Linked DNA regions of Homo sapiens: region 1 is linked to region 2. Evidence: promoter capture Hi-C in human tissues and cell types (Jung and others, 2019). All regions are on one chromosome and are shown on one strand. Each heading gives the region's core, a stretch centred on a gene start or on the middle of the fragment in contact. The rest is flanking DNA. Distances are from core to core; before and after follow the strand shown. Region 1 has its middle 150 kb from the start of LINC02523. Region 2 holds the start of HINT3 (histidine triad nucleotide binding protein 3).

Region 1 (2,702 bases), core at 202-2,701, 430 kb after region 2:
TGGAGTTTTCCATAGGTATTTCTAAACGTTAAAGACAGTAGGATTCTTTCCAGTTATTACACCACAAAAAGTGACATTAGAATATAACTTTGAGCAAACGAATTATTAATAACCAATATTAATTTGAAAATATAGTCAACATACCAAAGAAGCTGCAGAAGTATATAAAGAAAAGCTATAATTCTTTCATTTAAGTCACCCATTCAAAAAGCGCCCATGTTATATATACTGCATATATGTGCTTGAGCGAACACACAAAGAGTTCATTTGCTCTGTAGATTCTAAAAGGAAGAATCTTCTGCAGATAGCATTTCTGAAGGTTTCTCACCCTTCCCTTTGCTTTCTAAGGCATTGGAACAATGTGGATCCTTCCCAGACAGTCAGGCTTACTATAAAAAGTAACACCAATCATGGGAATTATAAAAGGAGAAGGGATATGCCATAAACAAGGATAAACATCTTTTTTAATGCAAAGCTGTCAGATCCACTTAAGCAGAGACCTGTTCCTTGTCCCCACAGTGGCCCCTCTTTCCTGTCCAGGGACCAACGAAGCCAGCCTTTCCTCCTAAGTTGCCCATGGTGAGAGGCTTAGATAAGGCACAAAGTTGCCCTCAATAGACTTAAAACCCCCATCTCTGGGACAAAGTGGGAAAGCTCTACTTTTGTTACCACTCTATCGAGGAGAAAAAAAAAAAAACAGGGAAAACATCCACTGTACAAAGCCTACATTGTGTGCTGAAAAACCCTGATCCTTGACTATTGTCTCCAGCATTATTTATGCAACAGAGATGATTTTTCAGAGGTTCAGTAAAATTATCAGCAGGGACATTTTAACACTCTATGTTTATTTGTTTAGTACAGTCTCCATTTTCTAGGAGAAAGAGAGCTAAAATATTTAAGCAACTCTTAAAAGTTATAGAGGGAAGAATAATTGTTCATTTCTCAATAGGAAAGCCCTTTTACTGTGAAATCCTCAGATATGATAGGCAATGTAGTTTATTCCAAGCCTTCAGAAATTGATTCTATACACACGATGTGTAGAAATGGTTTCTATTTACACTGTTAATTATATGGTATGTATAGTGTATATACTGCATATTATCATTTCAATCCTCTTTTATGTGAACTAGCCATGATAGCTGTTTCTGACCAACTCCAAAATTCAACTAGGCTTTAAATTATATATAATGCTTTTAGCTCATCAGGGAGATGAGAAACTGGGGAGATGGGGAGGGAGAGGTGGAGAGTACCAAGGGCAGAGAGATGAGGGAGGGGCAGCATGTCCTATGGGGCCCCATGCCCAGGTTCTAAATTACAAGTCCACACTTTACTCATTAATAGACTCTAGTAAGTATTATTCTGCCTTGATTTTTATAAGCTACAATATTGGGATAATGATACTTTCCTTACAGACCTCCAGTTACACATGTAAATACCTCCATTGTAAAATGGTCATGAAAAATAAGCTTAATGGTAGTTAAGTACCAAAGGTAGATAGCAGCCCAGAATGACTTAGTTTTCTGTTTTACCTCCCCTTGAGAGGCTAAAAGAGTCTTGAGAAACCTTTGCTAGATGATGCCCATGAATTTTCAAACTAGAATATACTATCCATTCAACAGATATTCATTACTTATTTTATGTCAGGCACTATGCCAGACACTAGAGGAATTCTGCAAAGTGCTTCAGGGATCCTCAAATGTTTGGTTTGAATTTTATTCTAGACATAAACTTCAACTATTTTGTAAAAAAGAATAGAAGTGGCATGTGTGTTCAGGGTACTATATATTAAATTTTAACTCTTTAATATCACTCCTACTTTATCTTGTACTCTCAGGTTTACTCATTTTGTATAAACTCAAAATACATTTCTTCTGCCTTCAGTGGAAATACTTTTACTTCTCCTAAATGTATCATTAATTAGAAATGTAATGGTGCCTAAATGTTCATTTAAAAATTTAAGACTTGCGGGTGTGGTTGCAGGGAAAAAGGAACTCTTATACACTGTCGGTGGGAGTGTAAATTAGTTCAACCATTGTGGAAGACAGTGTAGCGATTCCTCAAAGACCTAAAAACAGAAATACCATTGGACCCAGTAATCTCATTAGTGGATATATACCCAAAGGAATATAAACTATTCTGTTACAAAGACATATGCATGTGTATGCTCATTGCAGCACTATTCACAATAGCAAAGACATGGAATCAACCTAAATGCCTGTCGGTGGTAGACTGGATAAAGAAAATGTGGTACACCACATGCATATACACCATGGAAGACTATGCAGCCATAAAAAGAAATGAGATCATGTCCTTTGCAGGAACATGGATGGAGCTGGGGTTAGTTTGCTTTAGCAAACTAAGGAACAGAAAACCAAATACTGCAAGTTCTTACTTATAAGTGGGGGCTTAATGATGAAAACACATGGACACGTAGAAGCAGCAACACACTCTAAGGCCTTTTGGAGGGTGGAGGGTGGGAGGAGGGAGAGGATCAGGAGAAATAACTAATGGGAACTAGGCTTAGTACCTGGTGATGAAATAATCTGCACAACAAATTCTCATGACATAAATTTACCTATATAACAAACCTGCACATGTACTCCCGAACTTTAAAGAAAGCTTAAATTAAAAAAACAAAAAGAAAATTTAAAAAAAAAGGAAAAGAAAAAAAATCAGGACTGCTCACGTCTACTTGGGTATAA
Region 2 (2,745 bases), core at 4-2,503:
CCTCCTCTGTATACATTCCGCCCTTTAGATTGTAAAATCGGGACACAGACTGTCCCTTATCTTGCTCAAAAACCTCCAAAACAAGGTGCTTAGAAGGAATTATATTTATTTTTTAAAAAATAAAGGAATGTTTACTACAAAAGACACAATCTTTGGAGCTAATTCTCTCAAAAAGTTGTTTCTATATGGACAAGTAAAACCAACAGAATAAAGTGTGTGCCAGATTATCCGTTTAAAAATATCTGGGCAAAGTCTTCATGCTCTGAAAATGTCCACGCATCCCAACTGACAGTGGAATTCAGAGGCAATTCAATAATAGTTTGACCTCAGACCCACTCCCTCCAGCCTATTTTCTGCCAATCTAACAAACAGCTTTCCACAATTATCATTACCTATTTTCTACTAGTTTTCTCATCAGTATCGGTATTAGAGTGTGCAGGATTTAAAATCAGTATCTTGAAGGTGGAGAAGAATCCTTGTAATAAAAGCAGAGGCCACAAAATGTTATTTGTACCAACTACCTGGGTACCTGCAAACATAGGCCAAAGCATTCGGCCCTGTCATTCACTCTTTGCCCCTGGGAACAGCAAAGATACCGCTGGAGCCACTGCCTGTCAGTCCCCTAGGAGTGAGTCTGTCATCAGCACCCGGACCCTGCAGAAAGGCCCGTAGTGGGCGTATCCCCAGCTTCCCCGAGCCCCATCCACACAGAGCGGCCCTGCCTCTGCGAGCTGAGTAGCGATCGGGATCCTCTGCACCCGCTCCACAACGGCGAGGCCTCCCTGCCGGAGCTCCGAGGGGCGGCCAGGTCCTCACCCACCCCCGGCCGCGCGTCGCCGCCCACCTCGCAGTGCAGGAGTTCGGTGCCCGGGTCCTGCCGCCCCGCGATCCGGCAGAACACGCAGGTGCTGTCGTAGTCCTTGGGCTCTGGTGACTTGCCAGCGGCTTCACAGGTCCCCACTGAGGAAACCGTAGTTTCTGCAGTCGCCGAGGCCTCACAGTCGGGGGCCAGGCCGGCGCTGCGGTTCACCTGTTCCTCCGCCATTGCACCCGCCCCTCGCGGCCTAGAGCCTCGGCCTCTCCAGGGCTACCGGGCCCGCGCAGTCTCCGCGTCCCGCACCTCCTCCGTTTTACCTCGAGACGTCGCCCCTCGCCTGACGCTGGGCGGTGATCCAGGCTTTGGGGAGAGGGAAGGAGACGCGGTGAGGAACTTCAAAGCCGGAGGCCGGCCTCAAAACCGGCTGCCACTAGAGGGCGCGCAATGGCGCTGCCGAGAGTCGTCCTGACCCCTGCGCCTCGTTGGTAATGACGCACGACGTCTGCCAAGTCGCAGAGCGCCCAGCGCGTCGTGGTGACATCACAGAGGCGCGGGAGCGTTTGACATAATGGAGCTTGTTGGGTGTTCTGGACAGGCGTTCTTCAAAGCCCATAGTATAGCGTGTCCAAATATTGTATTACGCTGCCGTTTTTTTAAAAAAAAAAACAAAAAGTTTTTTAAAGTTTGATTTTTAAAATTCGTAGGTTTTTAAAGAATGAGCAAAATTCCTAAAGCCTTGTTTTCAACAGACATCATGTTTGCTGCTTTTTCAGCCACGATAATTGTAGGAGTTTAAACTCAAAATGTCCAAAACTGACCTTTACATCTCTGTTGACTTTTTATTGTTGTTAACAGCACAGTTAGATCAAACTAGCGACCTTTTTTTTAATCTCACATTCCTCATATACAAGTAGATGTGGAGTCCTATAGTCAATACTCTGAAATATCCCAGAAATTCAATGCCAGTGCCTCATAATGCCTCACCTAGACCAACGCAATCACCTTCTAACTTACTTATTGATTTTCCTGTCACTCAGACAAAACCTTCTGTAACTATGTGCTCAAAGAAAAAGTACCAGTTCCTTAGCTTGGTGTTCAAGGTGGACTCTGATTTGACCTCAGCTTTTCGTTTTGTGATACTTCCCACTTGCTGAGCATCTAAAACATGCCATATATTTCTCTAATTGTCAAAAAACGCAAGGTTGGTTTTATAACCACCGCTCTAGAGATGAAGGACCAAACTCAGAGTTGCCCAGTCCCACACAACTAATTAATAGTGACAGAGTTTAAGATCAAGGTTTGTCTAACTCCAAAACCCACCAACCTTTTTGACATACAGCACTCCTTTTTTAACACCAAAAAATTTGTTGGACTAGCTCACTATAGTAGTTACACCCTTGGTATTTGCTGATTTAGAAAATACATAACAAATTGGGAATTCAGTAATGATTTTTAATGGATTTATGTTGTAATAAAAAGTGGTTGTATGTGTTTTGAATTGTTGTACATATACATTCAAGACATTTTTCATTCCTTTTTGTAGTTGGCCCGTAGTTTGGGGAACCACTACAATAGCTTCACTGCCTTTCAGCACCCCAAAGCAGAGTTCAGAATCAATACATTAGAGTTTTGCCAAATTTTAGTATTCACAATTTCCATGCCTGTACTACACCTTCACATCACTGCTTTTATTCACACAGTTCTCTCTCAAATATTCTTGTTTCCATCTCTTCACTCCAAATTCTACCTTCCAAGCCACCCCTCCAATGCTACCTCCTTCATGAAATTTTCTTTAGCCAAACTGACATAAGCACATCCTCTTGCAAATTCATATAACAGGTTTTCAATATTTCTCTTGTAGGATTTGTCTCTTTGTATCTTATAGCTATTTATGTACTTATTTATCCTGCTAGGAATTATGTTTCTTG

The links. Contacts are between HindIII fragments. The study calls those that stand out against the background at their distance.
Region 1: a contact is called between a fragment that was not itself captured here and the fragment with the promoter of HINT3 in region 2, in 1 of the 25 tissues and cell types used here (H1 embryonic stem cells).

Annotation. Positions count from the first base shown.
Region 1 is chr6:125,522,567-125,525,268 of GRCh38, reverse strand. No RefSeq gene overlaps it. Among named protein-coding and RNA genes, the nearest start is that of LINC02523, 150 kb to the left of the region's middle. The HindIII fragment of the contact is 5,304 bases long and covers 1-2,702 here.
Region 2 is chr6:125,955,278-125,958,022 of GRCh38, reverse strand. HINT3 (histidine triad nucleotide binding protein 3) reads right to left here and starts at 1,253. Exons shown (of 5, transcript NM_138571.5): 1 at 845-1,253. The coding sequence starts at 1,045. RefSeq lists enhancers at 31-80, 1,141-1,240 and a silencer at 751-970. The HindIII fragment of the contact is 11,405 bases long and covers 1-2,745 here.